Regions from separate parts of the Homo sapiens genome. Here region 2 is linked to region 1. The links are contacts of gene promoters, found by promoter capture Hi-C in blood cells and fetal thymus (Javierre and others, 2016). All regions are on one chromosome and are shown on one strand. Each heading gives the region's core, a stretch centred on a gene start or on the middle of the fragment in contact. The rest is flanking DNA. Distances are from core to core; before and after follow the strand shown.

The links. Contacts are between HindIII fragments. The CHiCAGO score rates a contact against its expected background, and 5 or more counts as called.
Region 2: a contact is called between a fragment that was not itself captured here and the fragment with the promoter of CCDC92 in region 1, in 3 of 17 cell types (total B cells, activated CD4 T cells and monocytes). The highest score is 6.5, in total B cells.

The regions. Positions count from the first base shown.
Region 1 is chr12:123,971,153-123,974,388 of GRCh38, forward strand. CCDC92 (coiled-coil domain containing 92) reads right to left here and starts at 1,679. Exons shown (of 5, transcript NM_025140.3): 1 at 1,377-1,679. It overlaps ZNF664-RFLNA (ZNF664-RFLNA readthrough), which reads left to right and starts at 2,063. Exons shown (of 5, transcript NM_001347902.2): 1 at 2,063-2,151; 2 at 2,734-2,868. ZNF664 (zinc finger protein 664) reads left to right here and starts at 2,063. Exons shown (of 5, transcript NM_152437.3): 1 at 2,063-2,200; 2 at 2,734-2,868. RefSeq lists enhancers at 426-1,163, 1,164-1,901 and silencers at 1,122-1,241, 1,272-2,141, 2,212-2,291, 2,402-2,631. The HindIII fragment of the contact is 3,963 bases long and covers 707-3,236 here.
Region 2 is chr12:124,865,517-124,868,752 of GRCh38, forward strand. LOC105370050 (a long non-coding RNA gene) reads left to right here. Exons shown (of 3, transcript XR_945488.3): 1 at 1-88; 2 at 1,082-1,160. Among named protein-coding and RNA genes, the nearest start is that of SCARB1, 3.3 kb to the left of the region's middle. RefSeq lists enhancers at 383-552, 981-2,180. The HindIII fragment of the contact is 4,035 bases long and covers 1-3,236 here.

The DNA of each region.
Region 1 (3,236 bases), core at 429-2,928:
TAAATTTACTGAGTAATTATAATACGCAGAGGAGTAACAAAACTATTTTAAGATTTTTCAGTGGTGTGTATGGATATGTACGCATACCCGTATATATAATCACGAGTTTTAAAGCCTTCTTCCAAGCATATTTCACATAAGATGAACAGTTAGCCAAAAGAATTACATACATTTCAAAACATCTTTGGAGGTAAAAGCCACTTTAAACGTTAGCATCTTTTTCCTTACAATGCAATAGCGAGAAAATGCATGGGAATTCTTGATGAGCAAAAAAAAAAAAAAAGAAAAGTCGTTTTATCAATACCAATGCTCTTTAAATAAATTTCAAACGTAAAAGTTTTAAAATGGCAATCCTAGTTTTAATACTCTTACAGGTTTCTGGAACTGCGTAATATGTTAAAGTATTACAGCGTGGTAGCTTGCATTTTGTTATAAAACCGACTACTGCAACCTAAGCTACAGAGCGCGGTTATATTTTCTCTCTGGCAGCCTAATTTTCCTTAGTGGACTAGATCGTACTGCTAAATACCAAAACTTGAAATGAAACAATACAGGTCAGCATGAAAACCTAAGTTAGAGAAACTCACTCGCCGTAGCAGACGGCAGCCCAGTAGCCAAGCCTGGAGCTCTGCTGCGTTTGTGCATTCTGCTCCGTTTCACGAATCACAGGCAAATCGTTACTCAGAGTAAACTAAAGCCGCATCAAAGCTTCAGGAAGGGGCTGGCAAGGTAGTGTACTTACGGAAAGGCTACCAGGACGGGAGGCGATACAACTTGTCAGGGAGGGTCTCTAAGGTTCCCCGGGTGGTAACAAGCATTTAAAAAGGCGATGTGGATTCAGACGGCCTCCTCCCCACAGCATCCCAGACAAAGCCGGGCTAGGCCCCGGGGCGCTCCTGGTGCACCTGCAATGCGGATCCCTCGCCCTGCGATCCCACCCCGGGGCAGACAGGAGCGCCCCGGGACCGGCCTCTCCTCCCCCTTGGCACTGGGGTGGGCGCGCGCCGCGGCCGGTCCGCACCCTGGACTGGAGCCCGGGCCGGGGAGCCCCCTCCCCAGAAAGGGCCGGCAGACCCCGCGGGGGCGGGCGCGGGGGTCGCCGAGCCTCAGGGACCCTCTTTCCCCGACTCCGCCGTCTCCCGAGTTGCCTTCGCCCGGGGCCACCCCTGCCCCTGGGGGAGCTAACGTGGCTCCCAAGCCCCGGAGGTGGGGCAGGAGGACCCCGTCCCCCGTCTCCCGGCGGGGAGGGTTTTTAAAGTCTTCGCCACGAACTCCCGTCCCTGCCCGGCCCCTCCGCCCCTGCCCGGCCCCTCCGCCCCCGCCGGCGCTGCCAGGTGAGCGGGGCCGGACTCGACACACCCCGGGCCCCGCCTCACCTGCGGGCGCCGCCGTCGCGTTCCTTCAGGCGGCTGCCCTCTTAGGCTCGGTCCTCCCGGCGGGCGGCGGTGGGGGCCCGTGGCCCATGGGCTGGGCGGGGCGCGGCGGGCGGGGCTGCCTGGGCTCGGGCGCTGCCCGGGCCGGGCCGCCGAGGGAGGTCAGTGGGCACCGCCCGCCCGGCGCATCTCGCCCGCTCCCACCCCAGCGCTAGCCGCGGTGCACCCTGGGAGCGGGGCCGGCGGCGAGGCCTGGCCGCGCTGACCCGGCGGGCTAGGCGCCGGCGCGGCGGCGGGCCTGTGTCTGCCGGGCTGGGCGGGGGCGGCGGGCCGATATTCACTTGGCGAGGCGGGGCTACGCCCCCTTCCGCCCGGCTGTGGCGGGGCAGGGGCGAAGGCCGAGGGGAAGGGAGGGTCGGGCCCGCGGGACGCAGGCGCACAGCTCAGGTGCGGCCGCACTGCGGTTGCCCTGGGTAACGCGGCCCGAGGGAGGGGGGGGCGCGGGGAGGAGCGAGGGAGGCGAGCGGGAGCGCGCGCGCCGGGCGCTGGGGTGGGGGATGGCCGGGCCCGACCGGGCCGGGGCTGGGGGGCGGGGGCGGAGGCGGGCGGTGGGGGCGCGGGCCGGGTGGCCGCGCATGCGTGCGGCCCCCGCTCCCCCGGGGCTTCCCCGGCCTCGTGCGTGCGCACGCGCGCTGTCCCCCGGAGGCGTCTGGGTGTGCGGAGCGCGCGCGCGCGCGGCTCGGAGGCGCACCTGTGAGGTGTCCCTGAGGAGAGGGAGGTGGGTGCGCGGCGCCCGCGGCCTGGGGCGCTGACTCCCCTCACTTGGAGTGAGTTCTCGGCGGCCGGGCTGCAGTCTTTCTTTCTTTCCCGGAGGGAGGCGGGGGCCGGGGGCCAGGGAGCGGGCTGGGGGTGGGAAGGAGGTGGAGTGGCTTAAAGAAAAGAAAAACAACCCATCCCGGAGGATGGGCCTCGGGATGGCGGGGAAGGTCAGAGCGGCTCCGCGCAGCCTGGCGGGTCCCGGGCTGAGAAGCCGCCCCTCGGGCCTCGGGCGGTCGGCCGCGGGCCCGCAGTGCGGGGGAGCGGGGCCGGGGGGCGCAGATGGCGGCCGGTGCGAGCGAGGGCTGGGCAGCGGGCAGGGCGAGGCCGGGCGAGGCCCCTCGGGAGCCGGACTCCCGAGCCAGGCTCCATTGTTGTTGGAGCCGAGGGAAGGGGGAGCGCTGCCGCCCTCGTCGCCCGTGGAGCCGCGTCTTGGAGCCCTTCCAGGCGGGTCCCGGGAGAGGCGGTCATGGCCGCGCCAGGGGACCGGGGAGCCGGGCGGCTGCGGAGGAGCCGGCTGCATGGGGTGCTGTGTGTTTTTCAGGGCGCCCTGCGTCCGGCAGAGGAGGCGAGCATCCCGCTCAGGTGATGAGGAACCCCTCGCGCACCCAGCGCAGAAGGCTGCTGCCGCCGGACGCCTCCATTGTTTGACCACAACAAGGGCCGGATTCTCACCCAGGTAAACCGGCTGCCGGCGCTGTCCACTTCCCTCTGACTCCCGCCTCCGCAGGCGTTCTCACCCCTTCCAGGACTCGACTGCAGTTTTCTCACTGTCCCCGGCTTCTCATGAACTCCGTATACCCCCTCCCAGACATTTTCCCGTCCGGATCCATCTCTCCGCCACATCACCTCTCATTTCCCCCAGAACTCAGCTCCTTTGTGAAACCTTTCTTGCCGAACTCTAACAACTAAATCTCCCCGGGAGCCTGCTCCGAACTGAACTGTTCTGGTTGCTAGATTGCTTACGGGCTGTCTTATTGCAACAAAGGAGACCAGATACCGAAAAAAGATTTCTGAGCTATTGCCTTCTTCAAGGAACGTTTTCTG
Region 2 (3,236 bases), core at 396-2,895, 890 kb after region 1:
TGGGTGACAGCAAGACCCTGGGGGAAAAAGAAAAAAGAAAAAAGGGAGAGAAGTGGGCTGGCACTAAGTGGCAGTTGCCCTTAGATGGGTGAGTGTATCCCTGAAGCCCTCCACGCCCCCCTGAAGTCCTCCACCACACCCCACCTGGCCTGCCTTCTGGTCCCTGAAGTGCTGGCCAGTCCCCTCATTTTCTGAATGAAGTTACTGAGAAGAGACTCCTGGGTTACACAGGGACAGGAGGGTGGTGTCCCCAGCACGTGGGTAAGGCAGGCTCAGTCCTTGAGTGCTCCGAGGGAGGCTTTCTAAACCTCTTATTTAACTCCAGAAGAAAGCAGCCTTCTCGCAGGGCCATCCTTAAGCAACATGTCTTCGCCTGAACCAATATTTACAGAGCACCTGCTATGTTCTCGTTAGACAGCTTTGCCTGGCACTGCCTTCCTCTAAGGAGGCCGAATATGGTCCAGTGCCCCAAGGGGCAGGGCCCAACTCCTGAGGGAGGTCAGAGTGGCTGAGGTGAGACTGTGGTAGCCCCGGGGGACAGGTTCAGAGAAATCCAGGCTCTGGGGTTTCCCACATTGGAGTCCTGGGGCAAGTGGTTTGGGCCTTTCTGTGCCTCAGTCTCCTCATCTACGAAACGGGGATTAGAAGAGCCCCTTTCCAAGGGCTACCATGAGGATTAAACAAGTCAAAAAATGTGCCAGTGCTTAGAACAGTCCCTGGAATGTGTCAGTGCAACTGAGCTGGGGAGTGTCGTCGTTATTTTCCGGACCCACATGAACTGGCGCCTGCCCATCTCTCTGCCTCCATCTCCTGCCCTCTCCCCCATTGTTTCAGTTCATTGAGCATCCCCAGCTTTTTCTTGTGTCAGGAACTTTGCACTTCCTGTTCCTCTGTCTAGGATACGCTTCCCCTAGATCCTTCCATGGCTCCCCACTCTCCTCTTCTGGGCTCAGCTGAAACCCACTCCTCAGAGAAGCCTTTGCTGTTGCATCTGTTGAAAACAGGAGTCCCAGCCCACTCTGTCAGGCCACCTTGCTTTGTGTGAAATGGTCTTATCTGTTTCCTTGTTCATCTCCTCCAGCTCCCGAGAGACAGAAGCTGACCCTGTTTTGCTTATCGATGTATCTCCAGCACCTGGAAAAATGCCTGGCACATAGCAGGTACTCAATAAATACTTTACTCAATCAGCTAATTAACTCATTAATTAATCAAGTAACTGATCGATTGATTAATTAATTAATATCACTTCATTGAATTCCTTAAGGCCTTCAACAGCCTTCAGCTATGCAGTTGCCTTTTTTTTTAATGACTTTTGTAGTTCTCGGAAATTAGCCAGTTAACTAAAATCTGCGGTCTGCCTGGCCCTGACACCCTCCTCCACTTCCTTGATACTGACCTGCCTTGACCATCTCACCCAATCTAACTCTGATTCATGACCAAGTCTTCAAGGTCCAAATGTACGTGATGCTTACCCAAGAGGGCTGCAAGGCCATGGCTGGAGAGCCCTCATGTCACGCCATGCTGTCACTCGAGAGAGAAGGGCAGAGATGAAAGGGTGATGGGACACGTGAGCCACCTTGGCCTTGCTGAGGGGAGTCACTTCCGGTGGCAGGGAGGGCAGCTTAAGAAGGGAAAAAAAGACTTCGTCATGTTTGAGAGAGAGGTCTTGCCCTGGGGAAAGTCGAAGATACAGAAGAAAAGAAAGAGTGCTGATAACAAAATATGATCAACATGGTGTCACAGGGCTCCTGGAAAATCAAGTCAGATGCTTTTCCTCCTCTGCTCAGAGTCCTTTCGTGATCAAAGACGGAGAATGACTGCAGGCAAAGACCTGGAGGAGTTGGAAGCCTCTTGAGGTGCTTGTGGGATTGTAAAATGGTGCAGCCTCAAAAGGTAAACATAGGGGTCCCCTAAGACCCAGCAGTTCCACTCCTGGGTATATGCCCAGGAGAAAGGAAAGAGCATGTCCACACGGAAGCCTGGACACAAATGTTCACAGCAGCCAAGCAGTGAAAATAACCCACACCCCCATCAGCTGGTGAATAGGTAAATAAAATGTGGCATAACCACGCACTGGAATATGACTCAGCATAAAAAGGAATGAAGGGCTGACGCGTGCTACACCATGGATGAACCTTGAAAACATTGATAAGTGAAAGAAGCCAGACACAAAGGCCACATGTATGATTCTGCTTATATAAAATGTCCATAGTAGGCACATCTATGGGGACAAAAAGTAGACCAGTGGTTGCCAGGGGCTGGGGAGAATGAGGAGTGACTGCTACAGGTTTGGGGTTTCATCTTGGAGTGGTGAAAATGTTCTAAAAGTGACGGTAAAAGTGATGGTAATGATGGTTGCACAACTCCGTGAATATACAAAAAACCATCAAATTACACACTTTATTTACTTTTTCTTTTTTTCAAGAGACAGGGTCTCACTCTGTCACCCAGGCTGGAGTGCAGTCTTGAAGTCTTGGGTTCAAACCATCCTCCCGCCTCGGCCTCCTGACTAGCTTGGACAACAAGTATATGCCACTATGTACACCTGATGTTTTCATTTTTGTTGAGACAGGGTCTCACTTTGTTGCCCAGGCTGCTCTCAAAATTCTGGTCATCCTCCCACCCTGGCCTCCCAAAGCGCTGGGATTACAAGTGTGAGCCATCATGCCTGGCCAAATTATATACTTTAAATGGGTGAATGTATGATATGCAAATTATATCTCAATGAAAACTGTTATTTTAAAGAAATGGCCAGGCATGGTGGCCCATGCCTATAATCCCAGTGCTTTTGGAGGCTGAGGCAGGAGGATCCCTTGAGGCCAGGAGTTCGAGATCAGCCTGGGCAACACAGCCAGACACCATCTCTACAAAAAATAAAAAGTTAGCCAGGTAAAGTGGCACACACCTCTAGTTTCAGCTACTGAGGAGGCTGAGGTGGGAGAATCACGTGAGCCCAGGAAGTCGAGGCTGCAGTGAGTGAGCTGTGATTGTGTCACTGCACTCCAGCCTGGGCAACACAGTGAGACCCTGTCTCTCAAGAAAACAAAAAGAAAGAAACCTTTCCGTGGCTCCCACCTCATTCAGCATAAAAGCCAAAGCCCTCACCATGGCCCACAAGATCACCACATCTCATACTAGAGAGACAAAGTCAAAACGCACCCAGATGGGCACATCTCCCTGACCTCATCCCCCTCCCTCTCCTTGCCCACTCTGCTCCAGCCACATCCTCCTCCCTG